3 separate regions of the Homo sapiens genome follow, and all the other regions are linked to region 3. Evidence: promoter capture Hi-C in 16 types of primary human blood cells and fetal thymus (Javierre and others, 2016). All regions are on one chromosome and are shown on one strand. Each heading gives the region's core, a stretch centred on a gene start or on the middle of the fragment in contact. The rest is flanking DNA. Distances are from core to core; before and after follow the strand shown.

The links. The method cuts DNA at HindIII sites, captures the fragments that hold promoters and counts their contacts. A CHiCAGO score of 5 or more calls a contact.
Region 1: a fragment that was not itself captured here is called in contact with the fragment with the promoter of TIMM44 in region 3 in 2 of 17 cell types (endothelial precursors and erythroblasts); the score reaches 6.2 in endothelial precursors.
Region 2: the fragment with the promoter of HNRNPM here is called in contact with the fragment with the promoter of TIMM44 in region 3 in 5 of 17 cell types (naive CD4 T cells, fetal thymus, non-activated CD4 T cells and 2 more); the score reaches 6.8 in naive CD4 T cells.

The regions. Positions count from the first base shown.
Region 1 is chr19:8,242,087-8,245,787 of GRCh38, reverse strand. The region is part of intron 2 of CERS4 (ceramide synthase 4); the gene reads right to left. Among named protein-coding and RNA genes, the nearest start is that of CERS4, 35 kb to the right of the region's middle. The HindIII fragment of the contact is 4,736 bases long and covers 1-3,701 here.
Region 2 is chr19:8,443,606-8,447,308 of GRCh38, reverse strand. It overlaps HNRNPM (heterogeneous nuclear ribonucleoprotein M), which reads right to left and starts at 2,334. Exons shown (of 16, transcript NM_005968.5): 1 at 2,198-2,334. The coding sequence starts at 2,310. RefSeq lists silencers at 1,826-2,055, 2,296-2,575. The HindIII fragment of the contact is 1,747 bases long and covers 946-2,692 here.
Region 3 is chr19:7,941,877-7,945,324 of GRCh38, reverse strand. It overlaps TIMM44 (translocase of inner mitochondrial membrane 44), which reads left to right and starts at 1,659. Exons shown (of 13, transcript NM_006351.4): 1 at 1,659-1,718. The coding sequence starts at 1,674. RefSeq lists enhancers at 465-1,007, 1,008-1,551, 1,556-1,925, 1,552-2,094, 2,095-2,638 and a silencer at 1,456-1,525. The HindIII fragment of the contact is 5,893 bases long and covers 1-1,837 here.

The sequences.
Region 1 (3,701 bases), core at 1,016-3,515, 300 kb before region 3:
TGAGTGGATCACTTGCGATCAGGAGTTTGAGACCAGCCTGGCCAACACGGTGAAACCCCGTCTCTACTAAAAATACAAAAATTAGCCAGGGGTGGTGGTGGGCACCTGTAATCCCAGCTACTCAGGAGGCTGAGGCAGGAGAATTGCTTGAACCCGGGAGGCGGAGGCTGCAGTGAGCCAAGATTGTGCCACTGCACTCCAGCCTGGGTGAGAGAGCGAGACTTCATCTCAAAAATAAATAAAATAAATAAAAATAAAAATACCATAACCCCAGTGTTTAGGAGGCTGAGGCAGGAGGATTGCTTGAACCCAGGGGTTTGAGACCAGCCTGGACAACATAGCGAAACTGTCTCTACAAAAAATACAAAAATTAGCCGGGCAAGGTGGCATGTGGCCATAATCCTAGCTACTCGTGAGGCAGAGGCAGGAGGATTGCTTAAGCCCAAGAGTTTGGGGCTGCAATGAGCTGTGATCATGCCACCACACTTCAGCCTAAATGACAGAGTGATACCTGTCTCCAAAAACAGAGTAAATCAATAAAAAATAAAAATATATAAATAAAATAAAAAATAGACCCAGGTGCAGTGGCTCATGCCTGTAATTCCAGCACGTTGGGAGACTGAGGCAGGAGAATTGCTTGAAGCCAAGAGTGTTTTTTTTTTTTTTTTTTTTTTTTGAGATGGAGTCTCGCTCGGTCGCCCAGCCTGGAGTGCAGTGGCACGATCTCAGCTCACTGCAAGCTCAGCCTCCCGAGTAGCTGGGACTACAGGTGCCCGCCACTACGCCCGGCTAATTTTTTGTATTTTTAGTAGAGACAGGGTTTCACCATGTTAGCCAGGATGGTCTAGATCTCCTGACCTCGTGATCCACCTGTCTTGGCCTCCGAAAGTGCTGGGATTACAGGTGAGAGCCACCGCGCCTGGCCAAAGCCAAGAGTTCAAGACCAGCCTAGGGGGCAGCCGGGGGTGGTGGCTCACCCCTGTAATCCCAGCACTTTGGGAGGCCAAGGTGGGCAAACTGCTTTCCAAGGCAGGACTGCACCATCTTACACTCCCAGCAGGAGAATGTGAGGGTTCCGTTGCCCTTGGTTCTATTTTGAATAATGCAGGGATTCTCAGGTGTTGGTTGCCATGCAGGGCGTAGCATTTTGGAGGCCAGAAGAGGGTGCTCTGGCATGTCCAGTTGAGATAAGGTAGAGATAAGGGGATTCCAGAGACATTTTAGAGGTGGGGCCCCCCAAGAGCCAAATGCTTTCCAAAGTGGAGCCAGAAAAGAGAAGGGTTGGGAGAGGAAATTGGCAAGATATTGGTCAAAGGATATGACATTTCAGTTAGCAGCAGTAGTAAGTCCAAGAGATCTGTACATCATGATGATTTTAGTTAATAATATAGTATATACTGGAAAATTGCTAAGAGACTACATTTTCTGCAGGGAGGCAATCTCTCACTCTGTCTTCCAGGCTGGAATGCAGCGGTGCAATCATAGCTCACTGCAGCCTCGATCTCCTGGGCTCAAGCCATCTTCCTGCCTCAGCCTCCCGAGTAGCTGGGACTACAGGCTCCAGCCACCACACCCAGCCATTTCCTGCCTTTTCTGGCTTTAGAGGCTGCCTGCACCCTCCAGCTCCTGGTCCCTTCCTCCATCTTCAGAGCCAGCAGTGGCTAGTTGGGTCTTTCTCCCACCTTGTCATTCTGACAGTGTCTCTCCTGCCTCCGTCTTCTTCATTTTAAGACCCTTGTGATGACACTGGGTTCACCCAGATGATCTCCCATCTCAAGCTCAGCTGATTAACAACCTTAATTCCATCTTCAGCCTCACCCCACTTGGCCACTGAAGCTGTCAGCCTTCCAGTCTGAAGAACTGGATGAACCAGAATGGATGAGCTGATTTCAGGACAGGAGTCAGGCTAAGTGTCAGACAACACAAATTGTGGGTGTGGGGGAGGGCAGCTAAAATGTTCCCGTGGGCGTGTGGAGGAGGCAGGAGCTACTCAGGTTTGGGGCACAGGCTTGGGGTGGGTGGGGCCTGGGTAGGACTTGTCAGTGAGTGGCTGCTGTTGAAATCCATGAAGATGGATGGAATCCTCTATCTATCAGCAAGGGGTCAACAAGACCCTGTTTTGGGGGAAAAAAAAAAAAAAGGAAGAGACTGCACATGAAGGGGCAGGCTAAGTACCATGCTATGGGGCAACTGACATTTAGGCATCAGTGAAGTATTAGAAGCTGTTGCTAGCATTGGATACTCTGGTTGGGGAGGGGCACTAGAAGTCAGTGACCCAACAAGCAGTCAAGGGTGTGGGATAGCAGCTAGTCTAGACCTACAACGAGGCCCAGGCATCCCAGACAGAGTAGACACATGAACAGCTGGGTGGATGTGGGGACTTCAGCCCAGGTGGTTGATTTCTCAAGAAAAAGAAATCATCTTCACTAGCAGACAAGGTTGGCTTGATCCCGTGTGCCCGTGGGGGCTCAAGGACACATGGCCAGCTTGGCACTCTTGGTCCCAACTGTACTCAGCTCTCACAGCCAAAGCCATGACCACTGCAGGGTATCTGCAATCCCCTATTTTTTTTTTTTTTTTTTTTTTTTTTTTTAGAGACAGGGTCTCACTTTGTCACCCAGACTGGAGTGCACTGGCCTGATCATAGCTCACTGCAGCCTCAAACTCCTGGGTTCAAGCCATCCTCCCACCTCAGCCTTCTGAGTCACTGGTGCAGCTTTCTCAGAGACCCTGCTACCTTTCTGACAGACCCCAAGGTGCAGATGGAAGGGGACTAGGTGTCCTAGGAAGGCCCAGGCATCCAGACCCCCAGCTCCATGTTTTCCCCTCACCCAAGGGTCTTGGATGCATCCTTGCACACCTTGGTACATTCAAGTCATGATGAGTGTAGGGGATGAGGGAGAACCACAGGAGCAATGGCTTCTCACAATCTCAAGCCTTGCCTCTGCTGATGTGCCCAGCTTCAATGCCCACCAGTTTACTGACTGATACTCTGCTCCCACCAGACCATATCGTTTCACACATCCTAGCCTTTACAAATACTGGCCTCTGCCTAGAATGCTCATTTAGTATTTGGGTGCTGAAGACACAAAATGGTGGGGAAAACAAGCAACATCTCTGCCCTGAAGAGCTTAAACGCTTTCTTTCTCTGTTTGGCAAACTCCTATGCATCCTTCAAAACCCAGCTCAGTTGTCACCTCCTCCTGAAAGCAGCCCAATTGCCCTGCTTTGGATCCTGTTAAAGCACCCTCCCGCAACCCTGTCTTACTGTGATGTCAGGAGCTGGCCAGTGTTTTTGCAGGGAGGGTTGGAGAAGGAAGCATAACCAGTTCTAAACTCTCCTCTCCTCTGCTGAATCATGCCCATTGCTTCCTGAGTGGCACAGAAAGGGGAACAGATGCACTTTCTAAACCAGGGAGCTCTCCAAGGAGGCTTCAGACTGATATGCCCTGATTGCAGAGGTCTGGCCCCAGAGGTCCTACTCTCTCACTAACCTCACCAACCTGTCTCTGTCTCGTCCCTTCCCTCTTCTCCCTCTTAAAGCATAAATAAAAGATGCTGTGGTTTGAGAAAAGAACAGGGTCTGGAGCCCAGCAGACTGGCTGGAGTCCTAGCTGCAATGCTTCAAAGCCCTGGGAGCCTCAATTTCGTCACCTGTTGGTGGGACAGGTGCCCTCCCTGAAGGGTGGTTAAGCAGCTCA
Region 2 (3,703 bases), core at 1,085-3,584, 500 kb before region 3:
CTTCTAAAGAGATTTCCTTAAGACTTGTAATGAAAAAAAAAAAAAAAAGTTTTCCACAGGCCCTATCAAAAATATCCAAGTGTTGCCAGCTTCCTAAACTATCCTCTATGAAGCTAGTACTAGACTTTGAGACTTTGAGCCTCTTTCTCACAACGGCTATTTTATTCTACAATTTTCAGGTTCCAACAGTCCACATGTATTTGTAAAATGACTCAGTCACAAAATGACTATTTGAAAATGGACAGGGGAAAAGGGAAAATTTGTAATCTATTAATTTACCCTATCATCTAGCAAGGTTCTACCAGCACTCCTTCCTGCATACGGTAAATAAATTTATCTTAAAGCCCTCCAAATACCACCCTCAGAAATCCTACCAGCTTCCGTAGATAGACGCTGAAAAAGTCAAAATTAACACATTCCTTCCCAGAGTTTTCAATAGTAAAATGCTGGGAATAGAGGAAGTTTTTCTCATTTCTAAGGGCCAGTAACCATGGTATTTTATTTCTCCCTACTTAAGGAGGGAAAGAATCTGGAATTTTCTCCGGATTTATTATCTACCAATATAGCTAGCACTTAGGGAACGTTCTTAACCTAAGCGCTCAACTAGGCAGGGCGCAGTAGCTCATGCCTGTAACTTCAGCACTTTGGAAGGCCTAGGCAGGAGGATGGCTTGAACCCAGGAGTTTCAGACCAGCCTGGGCAACACCCGGAGACCTCCTCTCTTCAAAAAATTAGCCGGGCATGGTGGTGCCGCGCCTGTGATCCCAGCTACTCAGGAGGCTGAGATGGAAGGATCGATTGAGCCCAGGAGTTCGAGGCTGCAGTGATCTGTGATCGTGCCACTGCATCCCAGCTTGGGTAACAGAGGGAGACCCTGTCTCAAAGAAAAAAATTAAATATATAAGTGCTCAACCGCATTCACTTTTAATCTCCATAAACTAAGCTTCACACATTACAATATGAGGAAGGCAAAGTCACAGACAGAAAGGAAAGAAAACGGAGGGAGTTAGTATTTAATAGCTACACTTTCTGTTTCCGATGATGAAAAAGTTCTGGACATGAAGCAGTGACGGTTACAGCACACTGAGTCAGTATACTCAATGCCACTGAATTATACGCTTAAAAAATGGTTAAAATGGCAAAGTCTACGTTATGTCTATTTTACCACAATGAAATAAATGTCTGGGAAATTCAATGTGTACCCAGGCTTCCCCTTCCTTCCCGGCCGCTGATCTTGGAGCCAAAACCTCTCTGTCTCTCTTAAGTGTCTGTAATCAGAATGAATGAGTTTCACCGGGGCACAAGTCGATGCTTCCTCCTTTAAAGAAACTTTTAAAAGCCAAGGAGTCAAAGAGCCCCAAGCAGGACTCGAAAAGCTGATGAAGTCTGGAAGTAAATGAACCCGCCTCCTGACAGAACAGCTTCCCCGAAACACGGGAAAAAGGGGATTCCTCCCCCGACTTCGTATCTGTCTGCTTCCGAGGGTGAACGCTAAGCAGCAGATCCCATCTCTCCACTAATACCTGCGGCGCACCCGGGGAGGAGGAGCGGGAAACGGCGAGGGACTTGAGCCAGGGCCAGAGCGTGGGGCGAGGGGCGGTTCCGAGGGAGGCACTTCCCGCGGAGCGCGGTCGGCGCGCGGGGACTAAGGGGCGGGGCAGGAGGGGAGCCCCCCGACCCGGCTTCGCGGCCCTTCCTGACGCTTCCCTCGCTCGGTTACCGTTGACTCGGGCTGACTGCGCGCGAGGCCTCCCGGGCGCGCACCCTCTCTCCTCCCCCCACGTTACGGATCAGAAAACAGACCCCGGGAGGAGAGGGGACGGGGGGCTGAAACCCGGCCCCCGAGGTCACCCTCCCGGGGAGCGGTCGGGTAGGCCTCGGAGGCTCTCCGGTCCGGGCCCGCGCCATCAACCCCCATGCGCAGCAGCTGGGCCTGAGGCCTCGACTACGGGGTTGGCCCCGGCCTGGAGGGACTGAGGGTGGCGAGGCTCGAGGCCCGGTGTAGGGGACGATTCTGGAGGCTCCCCCGGCTCCCCGCTCACGGCCCTAGACGCCGCTACCCTGAGCAGGCGGTACGGGAACAGCCGGGGCCGAGGCCGCGCCGGGGCTAGGCCGCCAACAGACCTAACGGAGCCGCCGCCCGCGTCGGCCGCGGAGAGGAACCCTTACCCGTGGCAAAGGACCGTGGGATACTCACCCCTTAGGGCCCGGAGCCCCGTTGCCGCTCGGCACGCCGGGCGCGCCGCTCTCTTCCTCCATTTTGATCTCCGTCGCCGCCACCTCCGCCGCCGCTTCGACCCCTGCCGCCATTTTCTCCGCGTCTGGGCTTTGTGTGAGCGAACGGGCTGCACCGCGCTGCGCCTGCGCGCCCACGTGACCCGACGCAACCAGTAACACCTGCGCCCGCCGCTCCCGGCTGCCTCCTTGGCCCCACTCGCCCCGGGCCACGCCCCCGCCGCGCGCAGGCGCAGACCGGCAGCTGTTGATCGCTTCTCTCTCGAGATACACTCGCGTTAGGCACCGACTGGCTGTTCCCGGCGCGCGTCCTCTGAGTCCGATAGAGGAGGCATCTCCCCACCCCACCCCACACAAACACCTAGACCTAGTCACTCTCAGCTTTCTGTAACCAGAGCTGGAGCAGAGGGGAAGCAATGATCCTGTCTAGAGATTCCTGGAAGTTTTAGATGAAGCTTGTTCAACCCGCGGTCCGGCACACGATTCGTAAACTTTCTTAAAACATTGTGTCTTTTTGTGTGATTTTTTTCTTTTTGTAACGCAATTGCGCGGTTCTCCAGCGCGAACTTTGTAGGCAACAACGGAACGGCATGGAATAATATCAGAGTATTATCCGTAATTCGCATTATAATTGCAAACAGTTCGTCCAGAAGAAACGGAAAACTGTTAAAATTCACTAATAATGGGGCCAGGCGCGATGGCTCACTCCTGTAATCCCAGCACTTTGGGTATGGGAGGCCGAGGCGGCGGATCACCTGAGGTCAGGAGTTCGAGACCAGACTGGCCAACATGGTGAAACCGCGTCTCTACTAAAAATAAAAAAATTAGCTGGACGTGGTGGCGGGCGCCTGTAATCCCAGCTACTCGGGAGGCTGAAGCAGGAGAATCGCTTGAACCCAGGAGCCGGAGGTTGCAGTGAGCCGAGATCACGCCACTGCACCGCAGCCTGGGAGATAGACTGAGACTCCATCTCAAAAAACAAAAAGATAAGTATTGAGTACTGGGCTTAATACCTGGGTGATGAAATAATCTGTACAACAAACCTCCATGACAAGTGTTTACCTATTTAACAAACCTTCACATTTACCCCCAAACCTAAAAGTTAAAAACAAAATTAAAAAAAAAATTAATGGCTGGGCGCGGCAGCTCACGCCTGTAATCCTACCACTTTGAGAGGCCAAGGCGGGTGGATCACGAGGTCAAGAGATCAGACCATCCTGGCCAACATGATGAAACCCTGTCTCTACTAAAAATACAAAAATTAGCCGGGTGTGGTGGCAGGCGCCCATAATCCCAGCTACTGGGGAGCCTGAGGCAGGAGAATCGCTTCAACCCAGGAGGAGGAGGTTGCAGTGAGCCAAGATCGGGCCACTGCACTCCAGCCTGGTCACAGAGTGAGACCCCATCTCAAAAAAATTAAAAATAATAATAAAGAGCGAGAGGACTCTTGCAATGTTGCATAAAGTGA
Region 3 (3,448 bases), core at 410-2,909:
CACTGCCTCTGAGTGTCCAATGCTGTAGTTTTCTTTCTTTCCTTTCTCTCTCTCTCTTTCTTTCTTCTTCTTTTTTTTTGACACAAGGTCTCTCTCTGTTGCCCAGGTAGTGTAGTGTAGTGTAGTGTAGTGTAGTGGCACGATCACGGCTCACTACAGCCTTAACTTCCCGGGCCTCAACGATCCTCCCATCTCAGCCTCCTGAGTAGCTGGGACTACAAGCACATGCTACCACGCCAAGCTAATGTTTTGTATTTGTTGTAAAGAAGAGGTCTTCACTATGTTGCCCAGGCTGGTCTCAAACTCTTGGGCTGGAGAGATCCTCCCGCCTCAGTGTCCCAAAGTGCTGGGATTATAGGCATGAGCCACCGCGCCCGGCCAAACTCCGTACTTTCAACCACAACTAAGAATCCATATTTCTAGCCCAGACCTTATTCTTAGCAACACACCTGTGTACACCAACCGCTTAACTAGTTTGCTCCTCTTGGCATCAAGACATCTCGAACAAAGCCAGAGTGGAAGCCCTCATCTCTTACCCCCACCTTGAGGGGGAGCTCCTGAGATGGAGAACACAAGTCTATCCATCGCAGAAGCCAGGAATGCATGCTCTCCGGGGCCAAGCTGCCTCCCTTTGAAATAATGAAGTCCCATAAACCCATATCACAGGTTAGTAATGCAAAAAGACCGGGTGCGGTAGCTCACGCCTGTAATCCCAGTGACTCAGAGGCTGAGGCAGGAGGATCGCTTGAGCTTGGGAATTGGAGGCTGCAGTGAGCTAGATTACGACACTGCACTCTAGCCTGGGTGACAGAGCAAGCCTCTGGCTCTATAAAAAAAAAAAAGGATCCAATAAGACAAACAGCAACAGCAACATACATTAGCTCTCCCAGGGGACCAACCCTCCTCCTCATACCCGGATTGCATGGCCATGTTAAAATACCGCCACCTGGTGGCGGCATTCTTCGAATGGAAAATAGCATCTGGGGTGCTGAAATGACAAAGGCCTGAGCGTCTTCAGATCAGAGTGTCAGTTCACACTGAATCGAAGTAGGACTGGACCACAGTCAGCCCGCTCTCAGCTTCCTCTTCTTATTCGGGGTCAAAACCAACAGGCGTCTTCCCAAAGCGCCGCACAAGAGTGGGCTCCTTCGCTTTCTCGGAGCGACTCACTTGCTGGTCTCTCAGCCATTGTCAATCAATCAGTCATTGCAGGGGCAGCCATAGACAATTACTCTGGAGCTGGTCCGCCGGTCAATCAGAATCCAATCGAATCCGTCCTTGTGGTCGGTGGATCCACGTGCCTGTACCACCTGCCACCAGCGCCCGGCGCGTTCTGTAGCCGAATCACCGCAAGTGACGGAATACACGCCCCTGGGCTCCGCCCCCTCGTAGTCGCGCCCAATCACAGATCTGACCCTCCCAGGAGTGCCCTCCCCCGGGCCACATCCAGTCACGGGCCCCGTCCTTCCAAAACACTGCCCTATCAGAGGTCAAGCTCTCTAGGCATTCCCTACCCTTTTAATGCCCCGCCCTATGACGGACCCAATCGGAGGGCTCTCCCTACCCGAAACCCCGCTCCTGGAGCGGCTTTTCTCAGGCTTGCGCGGCTCTAGGCCGAAGCGGCGGATGACGCAACCGGGCCGCGCCGCGAGAAGGTCACACGATTCTCCAACATGGCGGCGGCGGCCCTGCGGAGTGGCTGGTGCCGCTGTCCACGGGTGAGCGGCGGTGCGGCGCTGGCAGGGCGAGCTTAGGGGTCTTCTGGGCCTTCGGCCACCAAGGCTTTCTTCTCAGACCCTTGGCCTTCGCGACCCTTGCTTGGGCTCCTTAGAAAGCTTGGGGTTAGATCTTTGGGTAGCAGAGGCCAGGACAGGGGGCACAGAGCGTGGCCTGAGGGCGGGGACCGAGCTTACCGGGCAGGGGGCGGCGATGCGCGGGACCTGGGAGGGAGCTGATCACCCTTCGCCCTCTGATCAGACTCCACGTATACAGGAGAGAGAATGGTAGCCGGGGCGGCGGCGTCCCGTGGAAAAAAGTAGAGGGGAAGGCAAAAAAACGTGAAATTCACAGCTCGCGGTTAAATGCCAAGTTCTCTACCGAGAGCATTTCTTGTCTCGTTTCTTCTAACGTTCATTGTGGATGTGCGAGAGGTGGTTCGCGCCCTAGCAGGCTCTTGGGTCCACAGGGCAGTGGCAGTCAAGACGTGTAAGGCGCACTCAGAAAGTAGTACTTCATATTGCTCGTGCTCTTCGTTTTTTCTTTTTTCTCTTTTTTTTTTTTTTTTGAGACAGAGTTTCGCTCTTGTCGCCCAGTCTGGAGTGCAATGGCGCGATCTCGGCTCACTGCAACTTCTGCCTCCTTCTGCCTCCGGGTTCAAGCGATTCTCCTGCCTCAGCCTCAGGTGGATCACCTGAGGTCAGGAGTTCGAGATCCACTGGCCCACATGGTGAAATCCCATCTCTACTAAAACCCCATCTGTACTAAAAATACAAAAAAATTAGCCGGGCATGGTGGCGCGCTCCTGTAATCCCAACTACTTGGGAGGCTGAGGCAGGAGAATCACTTGAACCCGGCAGGCGGAGATTGCAGTGAGCCGAGATCCTGCCACTTTACTCCAGCCTGGGCAACAGAGGGAGACTCCGTCTCAAAAAAAAAAAAAAAAGTTATCCTCAAGTAAATACAGGAGATAGTAGGCACCTGTGTAAGTTTGGGATGTTGCATAGGGTTCTCAGAGGTAGGAGGCAGAGAACAGAGAGAAAAACGGCCCAGGAAATGTGGAAATGGTGGAGAAGTTGTACCTGGTCTTTTGACATCAACACGCCAGGTTCTGTGCTGGGTGACAGGGTGCCGAGCTGAACAGGACCTGCACAGAGCTTTTTTTTTTTCCCCCAATTTTTTATGGAGGCAGGGTCTAGCTATGTTGCCCAGGCTGGTCTCAAACTCCTGAGCTCAAACGATCCTTCCGCCTCAGCCTCCCAAAGTATCGGGATTACAGGCATGAGCCACCAGCTCAGTGCCTGCACAGAACTTAAGGCAAGATCTCGGCTCACTGCACCCTCCACCTCCCGGGTTTAAGCAATACTACAGGTGTGTGGGACTACAGGTGTGTGCCACCACGCCCGGCTAATTTTTGTATTTTTGGTAGAGACGGGATTTCACCATGTTGGCCAGGCTGATCTCGAACTCCTGACCGGGTGATCCTCCCACCTCAGCCTCCCAACGTGTTGGGATTACTGGCGTGAGCCACCGCGCCCAGCCAGCAAGTGCCTTTTACATGAGATCAGCCCAGTCTTTGCCCAGAGCGACTCCCCTAAATTACTCTGTTTATAGCTCAACCCTTGAGGAGGACATTGTAGGTTTATTCCAGAGTTGTCCCTGGGGCAACACATTATCGATGTTTGTGTCTGAAAAATCCAGTTCTCTCATCTTTGGAGGCTGGCAGAAATGG